Regions from separate parts of the Homo sapiens genome. Here all the other regions are linked to region 2. The links are contacts of gene promoters, found by promoter capture Hi-C in blood cells and fetal thymus (Javierre and others, 2016). All regions are on one chromosome and are shown on one strand. The core of a region is centred on a gene start or on the middle of the fragment in contact, and the rest is flanking DNA. Distances in the headings are between cores, read along the strand shown.

The links. Contacts are between HindIII fragments. The CHiCAGO score rates a contact against its expected background, and 5 or more counts as called.
Region 1: a contact is called between a fragment that was not itself captured here and the fragment with the promoter of FBN1 in region 2, in 1 of 17 cell types (megakaryocytes). The highest score is 6.7, in megakaryocytes.
Region 3: a contact is called between a fragment that was not itself captured here and the fragment with the promoter of FBN1 in region 2, in 1 of 17 cell types (endothelial precursors). The highest score is 5.0, in endothelial precursors.
Region 4: a contact is called between a fragment that was not itself captured here and the fragment with the promoter of FBN1 in region 2, in 1 of 17 cell types (endothelial precursors). The highest score is 8.1, in endothelial precursors.
Region 5: a fragment that was not itself captured here is called in contact with the fragment with the promoter of FBN1 in region 2 in 1 of 17 cell types (endothelial precursors); the score reaches 5.4 in endothelial precursors.

The regions. Positions count from the first base shown.
Region 1 is chr15:48,402,810-48,407,256 of GRCh38, forward strand. No RefSeq gene overlaps it. Among named protein-coding and RNA genes, the nearest start is that of DUT-AS1, 73 kb to the left of the region's middle. The HindIII fragment of the contact is 5,889 bases long and covers 1-4,447 here.
Region 2 is chr15:48,643,607-48,648,206 of GRCh38, forward strand. It overlaps FBN1 (fibrillin 1), which reads right to left and starts at 2,103. Exons shown (of 66, transcript NM_000138.5): 1 at 1,969-2,103; 2 at 1,000-1,344. The coding sequence starts at 1,163. It overlaps FBN1-DT (FBN1 divergent transcript), which reads left to right and starts at 2,199. Exons shown (of 2, transcript NR_183872.1): 1 at 2,199-3,224. RefSeq lists silencers at 1,078-1,127, 1,228-1,357, 1,768-1,947, 1,988-2,067 and enhancers at 2,141-2,665, 2,178-2,267. The HindIII fragment of the contact is 7,208 bases long and covers 1-4,600 here.
Region 3 is chr15:48,456,354-48,459,935 of GRCh38, forward strand. FBN1 (fibrillin 1) reads right to left here. Exons shown (of 66, transcript NM_000138.5): 44 at 284-409. Among named protein-coding and RNA genes, the nearest start is that of DUT-AS1, 130 kb to the left of the region's middle. The HindIII fragment of the contact is 2,473 bases long and covers 15-2,487 here.
Region 4 is chr15:48,437,941-48,442,725 of GRCh38, forward strand. FBN1 (fibrillin 1) reads right to left here. Exons shown (of 66, transcript NM_000138.5): 50 at 3,781-3,906. Among named protein-coding and RNA genes, the nearest start is that of DUT-AS1, 110 kb to the left of the region's middle. The HindIII fragment of the contact is 2,099 bases long and covers 664-2,762 here.
Region 5 is chr15:48,421,824-48,424,952 of GRCh38, forward strand. FBN1 (fibrillin 1) reads right to left here. Exons shown (of 66, transcript NM_000138.5): 61 at 129-245. Among named protein-coding and RNA genes, the nearest start is that of DUT-AS1, 92 kb to the left of the region's middle. The HindIII fragment of the contact is 2,918 bases long and covers 1-2,709 here.

The DNA of each region.
Region 1 (4,447 bases), core at 1,556-4,055, 240 kb before region 2:
ATTTTGCTGTGGACAGATTTCACATTGGACACGCTGACTCCCTGGGAACTACCCAGTGTGGAGGCAAGAATTATAATCTTGCCCCAAGGCTAGCGTGAGAGGAGTCAGGTAGCTGGTTAATGCAGGAAACCACCTGGCAGCATCCACGCCTCACTGCTGCTTAATTCTTGTCTACTGATGACATGCCGCAAAACTCCAGTAAAAACACAGCTCACAGAGTCAGGAAATGGCATGGTTAATATTGTTAGGTGATAACACAATGTCCTGCAGACTGCGGTAACAATAGTGGAAGGGCACATACCAGAATTAAATGGTGGATTTCCCCAAGAAAACACCCTCATCTGTGTTATCTAAAGATTTAGAAAAGTGTTTCTTAACCATGGCTGCAAATTGCAGTCAACTGGAGAGCTTTTAAAACTGATAATGGCTGAACCTCAAATCCAGATTCTGAATTAATTGGTCTGGGGTGCAGTCAGGACACTGGGATTCTTTTTAAAAGCATCCTAAGCAGTTCTAACATGCAACCAAGTTTGAGAACCGTTGCTGTGGATTCCTTATAGTGAAAAAGTGGAGAATATTTATTTATTTATTATTTATTTGTATGAGGGTAATTAATATAGCTGGTACAACAAGGAGTCCCCAGATATCAATGGTTTACTACGAGAAAGTTTATTTCTTGTGAGTGTGGATGATTGCATAAGTGTTTTCTCAGCTAGACCTGAAAATGGTATACATCACACCTCCTGACATCCCGCTGGTTAGAATCACATCACCCAGCTCCAACCTAACTGCAGAAGAAGTTAGGATATGCCATCTTTCTGCGGCCCAGGAGAAAAAATACAGGGTTGGTGAGCTTGTAGTCCATTCCTGCCACATATAAATATCATAAAAATGCTTATAACTTCCTAATTTAAGAACCAAAGGCTTAGAGTTTAAGTACCAATATTTAAAAATAACTTTATATGGCCTGGCACAGTGGCTCAAGCCTGTAATCACAGCACTATGGGAGGCCAAGATGGGTGGATCACCTGAGGTCGGGAGTTCGAGACCAGCCTGACCAACATGAAAAAACCCCGTCTCTACTAAAAGTACAAAATTAGCTGGGCGTGGTGGCGGGCACCTGTAATCCCAGCTACTTGGGAGGCTGAGGCAGGAGAATCGCTTGAAACCCAGAGGCAGAGGTGGCAGTGAGCTGAGATTGTGCCATTTCAATCCAGCCTGGGCAACAAGAGTGAAATTCCATCTCAAAAAATGAAAAAAGTTAACTTTATATATTATTTTTCTCTTCTATTCGTAGAATCAATCATACATATACATTTTATATGTATATTGTTTTTACATATATATGTATATATATACATACACACACACTTATATTCGAAATAAAAGGGTCCTTTATGGCCGGGCACGGTGGCTCACACCTGTAATCCCAGCACTTTGGGAAGCCAAGTCTGGCGGATCACGAGGTCAGGAGATCAAGACTATCCTGGCTAACACGGTGAAACCCCGTCTCTACCAAAAATACAAAAAATTAGCCGGGCGCAGTGGTGGGCACCTGTAGTCCCAGCTACTCGGGAGGCTGAGGCAAGAGAATGGCGTGAACCCGGGAGGCGGAGCTTGCAGTGAGCCGAGATGGTGCCACTGCACTCCGGCCTGGGCGAAAGAGCGAGACTCCATCTCAAAAAAAAAAAAAAAAAAAAAAAAAAGGGTCCTTTACAGTATGAAATATGTCTGCCCAGGCCGGAGTGCAGTGGTGTGATCATGACTCACTGCAGCCTTGGCCTTCCAGGCTCAAGTAATCCTCCTGCCTTGGCCTCCCCAACAGCTGGGACTACAGGCATGTGCCACCATACCTGGCTAATTTGGGTATTTTTTGTAGAGACAGGGTCTCCCTATGTTGCCCAGACTGGGCTCAAGCAATCTACCTGCCTCAGCCTCCCAAAGTGCTGAAATCACAGGCATGAGCCCACACACTCTGTTATAATTTTTAATAAGAATTGTCTTGGAGGCAGTGAGTGTCTCCAGGTTGCCTAGCTTGGCTTTAACCCACGAAGCCCTGCTTATATTTTATGTATTGGATTTCAGAGTAAGTTTCATTTAAATATAGAAATTTAACTTTAAAAATGAACTCACCACTGAAAATCACCATTTTATGTGAAAACTACCACAGCATTACATGGGGGAGATAGGTTAGAAGGGTGTTTTAATTTCAGTGATTCATAAGGATCTAGACACGGGGCTTTACAGATGTCAGAAGGAACATAGTACAGAAGCATAGCTTGCCTCCTGGCTTCTAGGACCAAGGCACTGAAGATCATACACCCTGCTACTTCCTTCAAGAGCCTCAAAGGCTCACATCCCCTCTGACTATAGCTGGGAGAGAACTGCTCTGCTACCCCTTATTTGAAAGTACCTCTGCGTTAGGAACTTGGCTTCATTCATCTTTGTCTCTACTGCTTCATGCAGATGGCTCAAGGCAAGTGCTCAGAAAATATTTTTTTCAGAAAAACGAAGGGAGGGAGATGAAGAGGAAGAGATAGAAGAAATAGGTTGCTCTTCTGCAGAGATTTTTCCTATTTTCCTTCTCCTAATCTCAGTCATTGATCCTTTCAACACATATTAAGTGCCTGCTATGTGCCAGGCACTGAGCTGGGTGATAAAGCTACGAGGACAAAGCAGGCCTAGTCCTTGTCATCAGAGGCCTCGTATGGCAGCAGCGGGTTACAGGGGCCATGAAGAGATTTACTGAGGGGCGAGGGAGGGGAGCAAGCAGAGAAGCAAGAGGACTGACAACGGTATGGCCCACTCTCTCCTTGGCCTTCTCTTGGTTTCTAGAAGAGCAGAGAGAAGCCTAGATCTTGAATCACAATATAATTTGTAGCTTACAGATTCCTATTTTACTTTCTTGTGTTACATTTTATTCATTCTTCTGGCAAGCACAGTGAACTGGGTATGCACTGTGTTGTCAGAAGATCTGGAGTTTTTATTCTCAGTTCCAACTCTTTAGGGTGAGAGACCTTTGGCAAGAGACCCCAACTTGTGCATGATTAGGATGATAAAAATCTAGGATTGAGGTGAGGATTGAGGATCAGAGGTCACAGTTCACAAGTGCTTGTTAAAACTGTGAAGTTCTACAGAAGTATTAGACTTTTATATATAGTGGGTAATAATGGTCCAGCAAGGACATAGGGAAGGTGTTACTATTATCCACAATAATAAGGCTCAGAGACATCAAGGAGTTGCCCTGGGTGGAATAACTAGAAAGGGATGGAACTAAGATTTGAGCACAGCTTTCTGACCCCAGATGTCCTGCAGTATCAGGACTCTCAGGCAGGCACTCCTCAGGAGCAAAATGAGCTCTCAGTGAACTTTCTTTGCAGCTCACGGAAAGGTCAAAGCTCTGTAAATGAAGAATCACTGACGCTAGGAAAAAAAAAAATCAAGGCTGAAAGCATCAGCCTTTAAGGATGGTGCACCTGGCTTCCGTGTCCTCTCCTGGTAGGGGTGAGGCCTGTGGGGGTGAACATGTGGGCATGAGATCGGGAGCCATTTTCTCCTGGGGAGCTGGTTAAACAGCACACTGACTCCCCAGCTGGAGGCACCACACCTCCTGTGAATGACCCACCAGAGAGCCCACGGAAGCCAAGCCACAAAGGCGCAGGAAGCAGCAGGCCTCAGGGAGGAGCTTGCCACCCCGCCTGATCATGGGACTGCCCAAAGAGGGATAATCTCCATACAGCTGAAGACAGAAAGGCTAAACAGCACATCGTGCTGATTTCATGTAGTTACAAAAATACACAGACACAAACCCAATCTAGTCTGTTGAGCCTTGGAAATTCTGATATATTCAGGTCTCATTAATCTTTTCTGACAGGTCTGGCCTCCATAGCAGAGCTGGTGGGGCCACGCAGAGCAGAGTTCACCACGTAGACACAACTACAAAGGCCTGTGACCTCTGTCACTGTCTAGTAGGACTGATGGGATGTGTGATTATCATCAGGATGTTTTCAAATGTCTCCATTTCCAGGAGAAGAAAAAGGTTGATCATGTAGGTTTGATTTAATTCTCCCCAAGAGAGTATTTCAGGGTAAAAAGGAAACAGATCTCTTCTTATTTCTGCAACTCCCAGCACAGCTGCAAAGAATACATCAGGTGGGATATGAAAGTTAGGAAATGCTCAATGGAGCAGCTGCTTTTTGCTTAAAATCTCCACCTCTGTGTTGCTTAGATTTGAACCCAAGCTATGGATTCCAGAAGTACTTGGAAGGCTTGATGCCTTCTAGCTGACACCATAACCAACCCACAGGGGGCACAGGGGAGCACAGAGAGGATAATTTTGCCTTCATTTATGAAATGGGGATGGTCACAAAGATCAAAAATCACAATGAAGAGATAGCAGAGGGTGGAGCTAGCCAGAAATCGCATCCACTTACCTGCTATAACTTGG
Region 2 (4,600 bases), core at 853-3,352:
GAGCTATATAATAAAGCTACAGAACCACTCAGGAAAAGAGCATCAGCGAGAATGGTAAGAATTTAATACAAAATCTCCCTATATATACTGTCTGAATTTATTTAACAGGCTCCTCCAAGAAGATAAAAGGGGTCACTGACAGTCCATCCTGTTGTTTCCATGGAGGCTTTAACTTAAACAACTGCAGACAAATTTCTCTTAAAGGAAATGTATTCCCACTGTCCTTCAATACAGGAAAATGACAACCCTTAGTCAAGTCTAATTAAAATTTTTCCGGCTGAAACATCTGTAACAGCGGCATGGGAAGCCAGTGAAATGGTCAGTTGCATGTACACAACACAAACACCACTAGTTAAAAATACTCCCTTAAGGCCGGCCACAGCAGCCTTACTGCTGCAGTGAAACGGAGAGCCCCACACAACTCAAAAAACCAGTTCTCAGAACCACTTGCCCTGTTCTGCTTCCAATGTAGACATCTAAAGGAAGCATTGCCCAGAAAACCCAATCCGTAATTTTAATAAGCATAATTTACGGAAGAGTCAACTACTGTGTGATTTCTCCTCTGACTGTCATGGGAATCCCTTCCTTTCCTTGCCCCCTTTCAAATACAGCATCTACCAAGATGACCCCAAGGAAAGTACTTTCCTCTAGAAACAACCAGAATTGATATTGCAGGGAAAGGAACGGGCTTCTCCTCTTATCCCACTCGCAACTCCTCCCCTTCTTCCCCAAGGAACTCTTCTCGCCTCCCAAAATCTGCCTCAACAATGGCCCAAGATTCCATTTAACCACGTCCTCTCCTTTGGGGCAGAAATCTCTGGGAGTAGGGGCAAGGTAGTTTAACCACGAACGGGGTGGGGACTAAACAACCCTAGCACCTCTAAGGTGCCCCCAGGAGGTCTTGCCAAGGAGTCTTCCACAGGGAGAGTCATCCTGCCCGTTGTTCTGGATCTTGAAACTTGGGAGACCCACACCAAAGGAGGGAACCGGTTCCTTTACCCTTTAAGCGCGTCGTGTCCTCCACCGCCTCTTCTCTTGGCCCGACTGGCTCTGGTTTCCTTCACGTTCCCAGCCTCCAAATTGGCGTCCGCCCCATGGCTCGTGTAGGACGCTAAAAGCACGGTAAATCCCAGGGCGATCTCCAGCAGACGCCCTCGACGCATGATGCCGAGCCGCCACCGGCTCCCGCCGCCTCTTGCCGCGCCCGGGGCTCGGTCTGCGGCCGCCGCTGCGCCCTGAAGCGCACCGCGCCGCCGGGGTCCCGCTATCCCGCCGCCCGTCCCCCGGGCCGGGCTCCTCCCGCCTTCTCCAGGCGCTGCTCCCACTTCAGGCGGCCCCTGCCAGCTGCAACACAGAGACAAATCCCCGAGGCGGGGAGACTTTCAGGGCATCGGGATGCTGAAGCCTCGCGGTCCCCATTCCCAAGCCCAACCCGTGCGCCGCCTGCGCGTGGCGCAGTTAATTTGGGTAAGGGAAGACCGTTTGGTCCACAGCTGGCTGGAAAGCCCAGGCCCCCGGCGGCAGCAGCCCCGGCCGATCCCTCGGCCTCCCGGGCCCCGCCAGAAGAGCGCGGCGCAAAGTACCCATATCCCCAGCGGTCCTAAGCCCCGGGCGAGCTCTCTGGGTTTATTTTTTTTAGCGGCACGAATTGCGCGCGATGCGCGCTCTGAACGCCCCACTCCTCAGCCTGCCCTCTCCGCCAGGCTGGAAGCCAGCCGCGCCGTCCCCGCCGACTCCGGGCGATGCCACCGCCCCCCGAACATCTGACGCGGAGCCCGGCACCAAGAGCCCCGGGCCAGGAAGCTGTCAGGCAGGGGAGGGCCAGCGCCAGCTGTGGACGTTCCGGGACAGCCCCTCACCCCAGTCCCTGTCCCTGCCCTCGGCGCGGCGCAAACGCAAAAGCCTCCGTGGCCGCAGCTCCAGCCCCGGTGGCCGCCCGACCCCCGTCGGGACCCCGGCTGCACCCACTGGAGAAGCGGCGGCTCCGACTCCCGAGGAGGCGGCGGCGGCTGCTCCCAGTCGTGGCCGCTACAGCCACTGCTCGGCTCCGCTCGCAGCTGTCCCAGCTGTGGCTCCTGTCCGCTTGTGGCACCCACAGTCTCTGCCGCGGCTCCCGCAGCCCCCTCCTTTCCCCACCTCTTCAAGTATCGTCCGCGCAGCGGTTTCTCGCGAGAGAAATACTTTTTTTAAAAAAAGAAAGAAAAAGAAAATGACACCCCCTCCTTCGTCGCCCTCATCACCACCCCACCCCCCGGCCCCATCCATCCTCCCTTTCCACTCCCCTTTGCCAGCCTCCGCCTCGGTGCGGGGCCTCTCGCTCGCAGGATTAGCGCAGTGGGAGGAGGCAGAGGTGATCAGGTCCTGCCCGGCCTGGGACTTTTTGTCTTGAGGTGGGGAGGGGAGAAATGGGAAGAGGTGGAGTAGCGGTTTTAGCCCGCTCTGCGGCTGCGAGGTTTAGATCCGAGATTAACCTCTCCCGCGATAGGTGAAGCCCTACCGGAGCAGAAAGCTGTTCCACCTGCACCAAGAATGCGCGCTGGAGACGGTTGCCCCGGAGGCCCTGGCCCGAGAGAAAACCAGTCCCCGCTGCCCGCGCCTCCCGGTAGCGCGCTCCCTGCGCCTCTCCCGCCGGACACTCAGCAGACGCCGGAGGCCGGGAGGCTAAGACTGGGCGCGTCGCAGGCCGGGACCGCGGCAGAGGCTGCTGTGCCGACCGAGGAGAGGGCTCTGCCGCCCCCACTTGCCCTGGGTGTCGAGAGCCCACTCCAGACGCGGCTCTTCTGAGGCTCAATTCAAGCCACCCAGGCCTGAATCCAGGGTGCTCTCTCTAAGTCGGTGTCCAACCCAGGGGCCTGTAAATGTTGGAACCTAGGATGTAGGATGGGAGCGGTGAAGGGATGGTCCTCTTGCCCAGCCCAGATTAAGACTGGGGTTCATCTGGAGGACTCTACTTACACCCTCCCGGTCCCCTCGCCCTCCCCCACACACAGCTGCCTCTCCCCAGGATATGCGCGGCACAGTGAATTTAGTGGCTTTGAAAGGTATAGTATTTGTGGCATCCTTATATGGATAATGCCCAATGATGCCTGCACCCTGTAACAGTTTAGGAAGGCCTGAAGTCGCACACTGGGTCCTGGCTGCTGTAACTGGAGACCCCCAGAAGATCCCCTGCAAGCAGCCACCAGCCTGCTGTCAAGCCAATAATAAAAGCTCAGCACAAACAGGTACCCTGGGAATGTATCTTGTTGAAAGGGATTTTCCTTATTTGTAACCGTTTGTAAAGGGGCCCAGACAGTAGGGTAGAGAGACCTGGGCAAGTTATTCAACTTCTTTCCAAATACAAGATGGGACTTGTAGTGTCCACCACACAGGGTTGTAATGGTGATGATGGACATGCTGAACTGCTGTGATACATGAAGATGAAACAGAAAAACTGTGGGAACTATGAGCTGATCTAAAGCCATAGTCCTGTAAGTATGTATGTGGTGTACTTTAAGGTCTCACCTGCAAAAGGTCTCTTAGCAGATTCATGAATGAGAGCCTTGGTCACACACTCCTGGCTGAGTAAAGGAGATCATTCATTCAAGATGTTTTTACTGAGCACGAACTGTGTACTACTTAGTGCATTGTTGAACTAGACTTCAACAATTTTAACAAGGCAGGTTCAACAATTTGAACACGACTGACTTCAACAATTTAGTGAAAAGGGCAGAAATGTGTCTCCCCTCACACAGCAGGTAGTCAACAAGGAAAGGCAGACTTGAAACAAATAATGGACCAATTGTTAAGCGCCAAACAGGATAAGTACTGGGTGCTTGCTTGGAGGATATATAACAAGGGGACTTGACCTAGGCTAGGGCTGATCAGGAAAGGGATCCCTGAGGAAGTGATATTTAACTTAAGTCTAAAACATAACTAGACTCTACTTAGGATAGCAGTTCTCAACCCTGGCTATGCAGTAAAATAATAAGAGGCTTTAAAAAAATTCTGACACCAGGATGGGCATGGTGGCTCATGCCTGGGCCTGTAATCCCAGCACTTTGGGAGACCAAGGCGGGTGGATCACTTTAGACCAGTAGTTCAATAGCAGCCCGACCAACATTGTGAAACCCTGTCTCTACTAAAAATACAAAAATTAGCCAGGTGTGGTGGTGCATGCCTGTAAATCTTGCTACTCAGGAGGCTGAGGCACTAGAATCGCTTGAACCTGAGAGGTAGAGATTGCAGTGAGAGGAGATTGTGCCACTGCACTACAGCCTGGGCAGAACAGAGTGAAACTCTGCCTCAAAAAAAAAAAAAAAAAAAAAAAATCTGACACTGACACCAGGCCCCAACACCCAGAGTTTCTGATTTGAGTAGTCTGTAGTGGATTCTTCACATGGATATTTTTTAAAGCTCCCTGGGTAGGGAGGGGTAAGGAGGTAATTCACACTGGGAAAAGGATCTGAGCAGAGGGACCATGGATTAGGAGAAAGCAGGGCTGTTGGACATCCAGAAAGGCCTTGTCCTGCCCACCAGTTTTCTGGGCTGCTCTGCACCCACAGGGGACTCTGGAAACTGCATGCTTTCCTTGTACTCCAGCAGCATGCAAGACATGCTG
Region 3 (3,582 bases), core at 1-2,500, 190 kb before region 2:
ACCCAGGAACTCAAAGCTTTTTCATATCAGCTGGGAAGTCTAATATTAACACACTGTGTGTTGGGGGAAAGGGGCTGGGAATGTGCCTCCTGGTTTTTCCACTGAAGTTAGTGAATTTTTTTTTTTTGCATGAAATTTCATGTTGTTCCACACCATGCCCTTTACTATTTCTAGAGCTTAATGCATTTCTGAAATTTCAATGTTGTGAAATTCGCCAAGTGTGTATCAAGTAGCTCATCAGTTAGCTCTTTTCTGGATATGATAAAGTCATGATGCCACTTACCTTCACAAACCAACAACTTGTCATTATAGAAGAATCCCACTGGACATTCACATCGGAAGCTGCCAACCATGTTGATACACACTCCATTTTCACAGACCCCTGGGATCTCCCGGCACTCATCAATATCTAGAGACAGAGTAGTCATTCATGAGTGACAGGACAGCACATGATCCCTGTGCAGGGTAAGACAAGATGGAAAGTGCGTGCGTGTGTGTGTGTGTGTGTGTGTGTGTGTGCGTGCATGTGTTGGGGTGGTGGTGATGGCAATAGGGACATCAACGAATAGCAAATTGAGATAACTAAACCACTTTCCAGACATGAGTCTAACTGGATTTAAATATATGTTCTGGGTTTTGCTTCAGAATGTCAATTTTGTACAGGTAGGAGATATCTTTGTATCCTCTGGGCACTGTGGATGCACCAGATGAGTAGAATAGAGGGATGGTCAAGGGTAAACAGCCTCTCCACCCAAGTGTGCCTATATTTAGGGAAAAAGGCAGAGGTGAGCTGGTAAAGAACCACAGAGGAGCACATGGTCATATGGAACTCTGATCTTTCAAATTCCAGTTTAACTCCCCCTTCCTACTTCATGTGGCTTTAGAAAGGAGGTAAGTCAGGTGTGGGGATGTCAGCTGGGCTGGGGCTGACAATAAAAACGAGGTCAGCACCAAGGAAGAACTGTCGCAGTAGAATGTGTGCTTCCTAAGACTGGGAGTTGGGCTTGGCTCTCCAACACTGTGTTATGGTTCCTTAGCACTCTACATGACAGGTAGTAAGTGCTCAATTCAAATTTGTTCAGTTAAGAGCAAGTGTCTGGCAGTGTGTTGGTGAGCACTAAAACAGGACCAAGAGTGAGAACACAGCCAGGATCCAGGCTGCTAAGGCAGGGCTGGCCAGCTATGGATAGAGACTTTGGACACCTCACCAGCTTGGCCATGTCCCCAGCCTGGAGTGGTCCCATCTCTGTCTTACCCACTCTGAACTCCTGACCACTGAAGTGCCCTCTAGGATAAGAGTAGTAATAGTAGTAATAATGGTAATAGTATTAATAGTGACAGTATCTCATTTGCTGCATGACTGGTACATTTCTCAAGCATTCAACCTGTATTTATTGGCTGAATTATCACAGCCACCCCATGAGATGGTCTCGGTACTATGACTATTCTAACTAAGAGATGAAGCAAGTGAGGCCAAGCCACAGGATATAACCTGCCCAAGACCAAGCAGCCAATGAAAGGCAGAGTCAGGATTTGACACTGGGACTCAGTTAACAGGCCATCCTGCCTCCCTTATCATATAAGGGAAGATCGTATTATGGTGATTTCCTGCATCACCCTAATACAATCTTCACAGAACTGTCATCAACACTTTTGTTATCCTGGAGGGCCCTTCCATCAGCCCCTTGGCTGGGTTTGATGAAACACCTCAGCTGGGAGGTATGCAAAGCCTTGGTCTACAATCCAAAGTCTTCCAATTCACTAGTTTCTATGACTGTTGTTGAGATACGTTGTTTACTTATTATAGTCAGGAGCCTTTGCAAGGTACATACTTTGCTTGCATACTTGTGAGAAGATGATCACGGACTGAAGTGGAGCCTACAAGAGCTGCTGCAATTTTAGAAGAACCACACTCTATAACCAATCTGTTTTAAAGGAGAAATTTGATGTCATAGATTTATTTTAGACCCTTTTTAAAAAAGGGCTTGATTTTGTGTGAAGGCAAAATTGACCTATTTAATGAAAAGAAACAGCTTAGAATCTCAAAGGGTTCATTGCTATTTTGAATACACGCAATTATGTCTTTAGATCTTTCACACCTTTGTCATTCATGTCATGAAAATGCCATATAAAGTTACATCACAACTGTGTATCATAAGTAAACAAAAAACAAATTCAGATGCCATTCATTCAGTGTGGGTTAGAACACGAAACATCATATTCACATTCGTTTTAAATATAAGTGATATATTATTATCAAGTTTAACAATAACGGGCTGAGTCTAATTTCCAGCCATTGTTAGGTATAAAATAGCAAAAGGATATATTAAAAATTATATTTTCTTTTCCTGTCAGGATTTTATTTGAACTTCAACTTAGTGAAGTTTATATTTTAAGACAAGATTGATAAACATGCTATAGTTTTAACCCTATATGAATGGACTCCACATGCCAACAATCATAAGATCTTCCAAAAGGAGAGTATAAAGCTTAAATAAAACAAAGTTTTTCAGTCATCTAAATATTTTGTCATGCTGGAATTTGGTAACAATAAGCATATAGCTAAATAACAGATGTCCAGTTTTCAAGAGCTAGAAGCAAACTAAGCCATGAGTCAGGACTGTGTTCTGGTCCCAGCTCTGTTATTAATTAGCTGGGTGGCCTTGGGTGAGTCCCTTCCCCTCTCTGGGCCTCTGTCTCCTCAAATATGAAGCAAGGCATTTGGACTAGATGAAGTCTGAAGCCTTTCCAGCTCTCCTAGTGGACAACGCTAATGTTCTTTCTAGTCTTTGCTTACTGCCAAACTTGGAGGGCAGCCTTGCTGGGGTACATGCCTGGTTGGTCCGTGGAGAACCACTACCATTACAGACCACTTATCTTGTGATCACAGATTCTAGGGAGGTTAAAAGATCTGTTTTGGGAAGGGGAAAAACAAAGCAGCTAGGGCCAGGTGTTCCATGCCAATGTCATTTAGCAGTTTTTCTTTCCAAACCATGAAGTTTCTTTGGACGTGGACGAGACTGTGGAGCCATATGGATTTGGCACTAAGGGAGCCAGGCTGATTGCTGGACCAGACTCTTGTTTTCTTAAACAAGGTCACTGGAAAGGCTGATGTGGATTTTAGTTTACTTATTATGAATAAGGTGGAATAAAGCAAGTGGTGATGTTTGCTACTAGACACAACTGTGCAGACTTAAGAGGGCATCTAAGGATGCATATAAATCACACCAGGGAAAAACTCAGAGAATGCAATAGCTTTCCATCTACTTTTATGTTATTTGGTTTTAAACCACAAGGGCATTGCCTGCACTGGCTGAGTGCTGTGTAATACTTCTGATTCTTGCACAAGCATCTCTCCCAATGTTGTGTTCTCTGCTTCATTTACCAGGCAGGGCCTCAGACCGAAAAGATTTTTATTTCACATCTGAAATTCCCAAAGCAGATGACCTGAGGAGATTCCATGTAAGATAAAATTGATCCACGAAAGGACTTTATGTAAACAATCTACACGTAAGGATTGGTGTGAAGTCACTTAACCTGGTCTTAGTCAGAAGGAAGGATTGAGAATTACAGTTAAATCAA
Region 4 (4,785 bases), core at 463-2,962, 210 kb before region 2:
CTTCAGTTGCTTTCCTACTGAGTCCGTATTGCACCATAGCAAATAAAGAACAACCCACTATGTTATATATGTTCTCCTCTCAGGACCACAGCAATACTCCTTACGTGATTCTAATGGTAACTGAGCTGAGATTGTTAAAGTCATGGGTATCTTTTGTATAGTGAGATCTGATGAACAACTCTATGAACTTAAATTTATTACTTCTCATTTTAGTCACTATTTCAAAGTAACCCGATGTGAATCCAATAAAATCCAAAACTGACAGTTTTCAAAACTGACATCTGTCAGTGACTTCAGGATTGGAAAGTCCACAGAAGGAATCATTCACAAGATTCCTTCATTGATAGCTCTGCTTGCAATATCATGTTTAATGAGCACACTAGAGTAAGAGAATCCTCTTAGTTCTAATATTTACTGTGATATCACACTTTGTGGTTTATTCTGTGTCCCCTAAACTCTGGAACTAAAATAAAATCCCAGATCACAGGCACAGAACAAATACAGAAGTGGCAACTTTGTAGATGGGCAAAAATACAACACAAGGGTTGGTCACTGAAGCAGATACTCCCGGAGATGCTGGCTACAAAATGCAAGTGGGGCTTTTTGTAGATTTTACACACACACACATATGCAGAGCTGTGTCAATGTTAAATTTTTAAAAGAAGCTTGTTTAGCTCAACACAGAGAGGGAAGGAAGAGGAGGGCAGGGCTGTGGGTGGGTGGGAACAGAATAGTCTTTCTTTGAAAGAATATATTTCAATATTGATTATTGCTTTGATGACTCCAACAAAGAAGATGGGATCTACTTCCTATAAAATTCTCCAACATTGCTTGACATAATTTTGGAAACGGGCTTTTCCATTTCTCATACAACACATTGACTCCAAAAAGTGAGCTCAACCAGAGGTATGGACTGTGTTTTCCCTCGAACTTGACTTCTTAAAGCCTTCCAAAACTCCTCTCATTACACAGAGGCCACAATCTGCAGGTTTAAAAGAAATGCTTTCATACCCATATTGTACTATTCTTCTTTCTTTATATCTGACCACCTCTGCCTTTTTCATTCACTTCCATCACTGTTTTTCAATCCCAGGAACCATACTATCATAACCACCTAAGCACTTCTGTTAAGACAGTCTCACCAGCTTTTATTTCATGACAAAGAAGACAATGTAGGAATAACAGAGTTGCCAGAGATAACAAAGGAAAGGTTTTCATGAATTAAAGTTTCTATCTATCTATCTATTATATTTACCAAGTTATGTAAATCAAATTCAGGTAGCCTCCCCAGTAAACCTGCTCAACCTTTCATGGCTACCAACTCATCCAGATAAATCATCTCTCTAATTTCTATTCCACTTCCCCATCTGTTGTGGCAAGGACCTGGCAAGCACCTTTCAATGAATTATCCTTCTGAAGGTCAAGAGCAATAAAAGTCAATCCTGCGGCATCTCTGCCACCCAAATGTTTGCTTTGCTGAGAAACTTCAAGACTGAACAAATTCTTGTTTCTTGGAGAACACTTTTGATCTCTTTTATTCTTCAAGTTCTTTGTCACATATAATGTTTTGTATTTATCAGTCTTGTTTTTGTTATTTATGCCTCCAACTACCTTTAGATATAATTCAGTGACTACTCACAAAAATGTCTCAACAAATATATGAAAACTTAACTCTGCTTTGTCTTCCAGTTTGTAGTGTTTCTTTAAATATGTATGTTGTAATATTGGTGTATTAAAATTCTCATTCTCTTTTCCTTTAATAGCTGACTTCGTCCCAGACCCCAGCTCTATCTCCCCCACACCACTCCACCCCGAAAAAAAAAAATCTTGGCATTAGACAGAGACTCAAATGCACGAAGTCTTGAGTCAGTCTAAGTGGCAAATTCTCTTCGTTGAACTTTGCAAGTGGGAGTGGCTCATTTACACCTGTGGTCTTTTGTGCCAGGCTCTGTCCACCTGAGTCCCATGGCATTCGCTTTTTAAAAAACATTATCCACGGTTCTGTGGAATTTTCTCATTTCATGAGCAATAGAAGTCTGACTCCTAATTTGTCATCTTACAAGAAAAACCCAGCTCTCAATTTCCTGGCTCCAGCAAAATCTGTGCTCTGTAGGAGACTTACTTTAGCTTGTGGTGATTCTCTAGAATTGGCTTATTAATCAAGGGTGTCTTGCATTGGGGAAGAGAGCTGTGCTTGCCCACATACTTCAGGACTCACTGGGATGCCTGTTTACCAGTCCATCTGCAAAGAGCCCTTAATGACCTCGAAATTTCATCAGAACTACAAAAGTCACTTTCCCTGCTTGCATTCCTCAGTTCTGGCTCTGCCTCCTGGAGCTGAGCATGTGGCAGGGCTGCTCACAGCTGGGCTGATTCTTCCTGCAGCGTTAGCTTGCTCTGTGATGGGCCAGTGCAAATTGAATTAATAGCCTAGGAGTTTCCTCTGGCCTGCCACATCGGCAGATTCACACCTGGTTTCTCACTGCTTTCTTTCCAAATTCAGGCCAAGCCAAAGGCACACAAAAACAAGGGAGTAGGAGTTAGAATTTATCTGACTGGTCTGTACCATGCAGAATATCTGTTCGAATTAAGCACCACCCTGAAATCCACACAGACCACTGACAACTACCAACAAGCTGAAATCAACCGGAGAACTCTCAACCCTCTCCTTCTTACTTCCCAAATAACTAGTTGAAAAGTAAAAAGTTAATCAGATCATTAGAATAACAACAAGAGTCTACAAAGGACTCAGAAACTAACAAAGCTTTGTCACAGTAAGGCTGGTTGGGCAGATATTATTGTTGTTTAAAATGAGGAAATTGAGCTTCCAAAAGATTAAATGACTTGCTCTAGACTAAATATGGCAGGGCTGGGACCCCAAACTCAATTTTTTGAACCTTAAATGATATCCAGTGCCTCTTCCATATTTGGTAATACGGAAGCAAAACCAAAAAACCATGAAAAAAAAAAAAAACCCAACTCAACATCAAAACAACAGTAACAACCAAACAACAAAAGCTACAAGTGGAAAAAAAAGAAATACATGTGTTTGTTTCATCTCCCTTCCCCGGAATTCATGAAACTAGTTTGTGTATGTAGATATCCATACACAACTGTATTGTTTAGAAAAGTCTAAACAGTTTTCTGGGACTTAAGTACATACTGTGTTATGCCAAAGTTCAGGATCCTTTTGATTTTTGTTTAAAATTTGAAAGTCATTGGCAAACCCTTGAAAATCTTTACTCAAATAGTTGACAAGTATTATTCCTAAAAATGAACAATGGCCCAGCAAGAATCCTGATCAGTTTAAATTTATTTTTGTTTTCTTGGAGAATTTGTGATATAAGGGATGGTTACCATATTGTGGGGGCAAATGGGTTAATGTGCAGTTTTTCAGTCTCAAGTCTAACTTTGGACCCACATTTTTCAGCTTATCTCTTCAGAGGTAGGGGATATGTAGCTCAACTTCCCCCAGGCTTTGCTGTTTCGGTGGCTCAAGGTGTTTCCCCACTGATGGGCCTATCAGCATTTGTGTTCTTAGTGGGAGAGAGGTTTATGTGTCAGTACAATTGTATAAGCAACCATAACTTGATGGATGAGTTTTTAACCTTAAAAGTGAAAATGAACCTTCTGACATATGGTTATCATTAGACCTCTGGGTGAATGAAAACTCTCCATCTTCCTGTTCACAAAGAAACAGAGCTTTGCCATGTTTGAAAAATAAGACCACCACAAATAAACATGCAGCATTGAAAGCCCAAAGCCTTCAAAGACACTTACCTTGGCACCTTCTTCCACTGGAGGACAAGGAAAACCCTTCTGGACACAGACATTTGAAGCTGCCTTCAGTGTTACTGCATGTGCCCAGGGCACAAATTTCTGGCTCTTCGACACACTCATCAATATCTAAAAGAATCACATGAGTCAAACAAAGTCAAAACACGATGGAGACATCATCAGGTACCAAACACACAATGTGGACACACAAAGGGCAACTGAGTTTCCAAACTCTTACAATAATAAAGGTATTTTTCTGTACCATAACACTGTGGACTGGACTTCTAGGTTGTCATGACTTCAAAAGAATTAGTTTTGACAGTTATTGATATAAAAATGGAATGTGCAACTGCCTTCTAAGGGGTGCAGTGACAAACGTCTCTTACCCAGACTGAGTTGCTTGGCTAACTAGAAAAGTCAGAGTAATTTCATAGTACCCTAGGCCAGGAAAGAAGCATGAAATTCTAGAGTCACACTGCACCATTGTTCAGGAAGCAGAAATGCTGAGACTTTAAGCACATTGCTAGTGACTCACTCAATGTGAGATCTAGGCCTTTGATCCAAATTTACTCCCCTCCAACCACCCACAGAACTTTTCCCAATACCCTATGCTATAGCCCTAAAACTGTGAATTTTACAAGAACACTAAGACTCATGAAAATAAGTATAATCCTATGAAGTGCAAACTAACGATATCATAGAAGATGACGCTCCTGATTTGTGGGTTAATCTTTCTGAAGACACAAAAATACCTTTCTTGTACAGGCTTTTTCTTTCATCATATAGACAATAGGAAACTGTACACTTAGAATTGTGGCATGTTTTCTTTAGTATATTATACATCTTAGCTCCTGTACAGTGGTAGTTAAGAGTAGCCAATAAGAAGTTTGAATGGCTTGAGTAACCATATGTCCTAGTTTGCCTGGGGGAGCCCCAGCTCATGCCAGTTGGCCTGACTTTATTGTTAATAGTGCCCTTTTCTACTTTCAAAATTGGCTTGGGTTGGTC
Region 5 (3,129 bases), core at 1-2,500, 220 kb before region 2:
TCACACATACATGCACTCATATATTTCTTTGAGCTTTTATTTTCTTATCCCAACAGCAGAGGAAATAGAAAATAATCCCTTAAAAGAATCGCTACAATCCATGTAGGATTTTTTCCTCTCCTACTCACCAATGCAGGACGTATGGTGTTGGGTAAATCCGGGAGGACATTTGCATGTGAAGCCGCCAATGGTGTTAACACATAGGAACTGGCAGTTGTGTTGCTTGGTTGCACACTCATCAAGATCTACAAGAAAATGCAAGAGAGGCATTTGAGTCAAGCCAACAAAACAGGATCAGGGAAGCTGACCCTATGAAGCAGCTCCACGTTTGATTTGGAGGTCTCAAATGACCCTGACTAGAAAGAAGCCACAGCAAAAGGCAAGGAGAGACACAGGGGGTAAAGATCTGAAAGATAAAACAAGGTGTCAATTTAGACCCTCCTCCCCTCAAAAAAATATAAAGAGATCTTTAGGGGATCCAAGAAAACACAATTCTAATTGGAGAAATGCAGGAATTCCTCAACAAAGGAATTTCAAATAAATCATGACATTTTAAACAAATTTTTAAATGAAGCGAAAGATGAATGATTCTGCAAATTTTCCAGAGCTTTGAAAAGATCTATTTAAGTTAAAACATAAAGAGAAATGTTGAAGCTGGAAATGAATTTGCTGGCTTAGTTCTCTTCTGTTTGCTGTTTTTAATCTACTCAAATGAAGTCATCAAAAACAAAATCTGATTTCTTTAGTCGTGATTCTTCTTAGGATAAACCAAAATTGAGCAATCAGGAAGGAAACAAAGCAAAGGAAAAATTCATTTTAATAGCTAAAGGCACTTTTAATAAAACTGCCTCCAGGCCAAGCGTGGTGGCTCATGCCTGTATTCCCAGCACTTTGGGAGGCCAAGGCAGGCTGATCACTTTGAGCTCACGAGTTTGAGACCAGCCTGGGCAACATGGCAAAACCTGTCTCTAGTGAATATACAAAAATTAGCTGGGTGTGGTGGTGTGTGCATGTAATCCCAGCTACCTGGGAGGCAGAGGTTGCAGTGAGCTGAGATCGCACCACTGCACTCCAGCCTGGGCAACAGAGTGAAACTTCGTCTCAAAACAAAAACAAAAACAAAAACAAAAAACAAAAAACAAAAAAAACAAAAATCCAAAACTGACAACTGCCTGCAGTGTTTATCCAACATTGTTTCCCACATCTCAATAAAACCCTCTGCTTTGACCAGGCCTCTTTTCTCAACGCCTCAACTTCTAAGTTGCATTCTCAACTCCAATGTTATTTCAAAATACCAAGAGATGAAATGTTGTGTTCTAGCTTCTAGCTAAACTTTAATGATAATTTTAAAATTGTCGCATATTCAGGAAAAAACATTAGTGACTTTATTTTATCACAAATTCAACCACTATGCCCTCACCATCTGCACAACTGCTTTGGAGCTGCAGATCAGTGCCAGCTTTGCCAGTGACTGCTTCCACTCCACAGGGCCAGTTCCTGGCTAGAGTAACATCTGGAGTGGACCTACACTGAGAGACCCTCCCGAGACCTGTCCTAGTTCCGGCTTCTCTTATAATGCTGCCTGTCCTGTGCTCTTTCCACTGCTGAGATCTTGACTGATATGCACTCTCTGTTCAGCTTTCTCAGAGTCTGTGGACTGGTTTCCCCTGTCTATGGCCCAAGGAGCTTGGCTGGAGCATCATGACACATTTGCTGAAGCTCACCTGCAACAGGTGAGGAAGATGACTCAGTGATTTCTCCTAACACCATTTCATGAGTACAACACATGAAGAACAGCAGCACTTGCTGCTCTTGCCTCCAAGATGCCCTTCCTCCTCTTCTCCCCTCTAATCTGCATTCTACCCATCTCTCACTGGGGATGTGCTGCTCCCACGGCCACCCTTCTGGCTTCCTCCTTCTCAGTGACTGTGGTGCAACTATCTGCACTATTCATTTGATATTTAGTTATATATACCAAGTAAGTGGAAGAATTTGAACCTTATGGGAAAAAACAGGAAAAGGGACAAGTTGTGAGTGGACATGTAAAAATTACAGTTGCTCTTTGCACTCCTAAAGCCATAAAGAGAACTTTATTGATGCATTTTCATTTTTCATCTTTTAATTGCTGGAAACTTTTGAGAATTTTCTGCCCCCAGAGGTTAGAAAAAATGCTATAAATTTGTTTTGCTTGTTACAGATAATATATACAATGAGAGATATTTTCCCCTTGAATTTGGTTCTTCATTTATATGAATAAATTTATGGCTCTGAGTTATAGCTTCACATTGCCTAGAACTCACAGTGACCCCAGATGTAAAATAAGTTCCACATTTGAGAAGAACAAAGCTATGAGCGACTTCATTTAAGATGTTTAGAATGTGTAAGTAGGTCTCTCAACTTCCTCTCCCCAAACTACAGGATTATACAGGCTTTGTGCTGCACAGGAAGGCCTCAGGCACTTGCCCATGATGTCATCCACTATTACATGTCTCTTAACTCTCCCTTTCAGCAGACACAGGAAAGAGGTCAAGAGCCCAACTTCTCTCTGCTCTCCACTTCTCTCCTCTCCTCTCCTCCAATCTGGATCCTCCGTGGGGATGTGCTGGTCCCACCCTCCACCCTTCTAGCCTCTTCTCAGTTCAGTGGTACACACAGCTGCATCATTCATTTGATATTTAGTTATATATACCAAGTAAGTGGAAGAACTTAAGCTTTATGAGAAAAAATAGGAAAAAGACTCCACTCTATCCTTTACCTTCCTTACTTCTGTATGTTTCTATAAATTTCCTTCAAAGTTTCATGGCATGACATGATATCTCTTGCTCTACCACTTGGTCTATCTTTTCTTCTCCAAATCTCTGATTTCCCAAATTATTGTTAAGTATGACTCACTAGTGCTATTCACTAAATATAATGTTCTTATTGTGGAGGAAGATGTTTACAGGAGTAAAATTAAACCAAAAAAATTTTGCAAAGGATAACTTCTGGTTGAGAAGGGATTTCTGCCCAGAGCTTTTCTGGTTCTTAATTCTGTGTGATATTTATGTCTCAGGGAAGCTCCTACAGGGCAGAAATAGACTTTTTCTGCAGAACAAAAATCTGGACACAGCATCTAATTCATTAGGCACA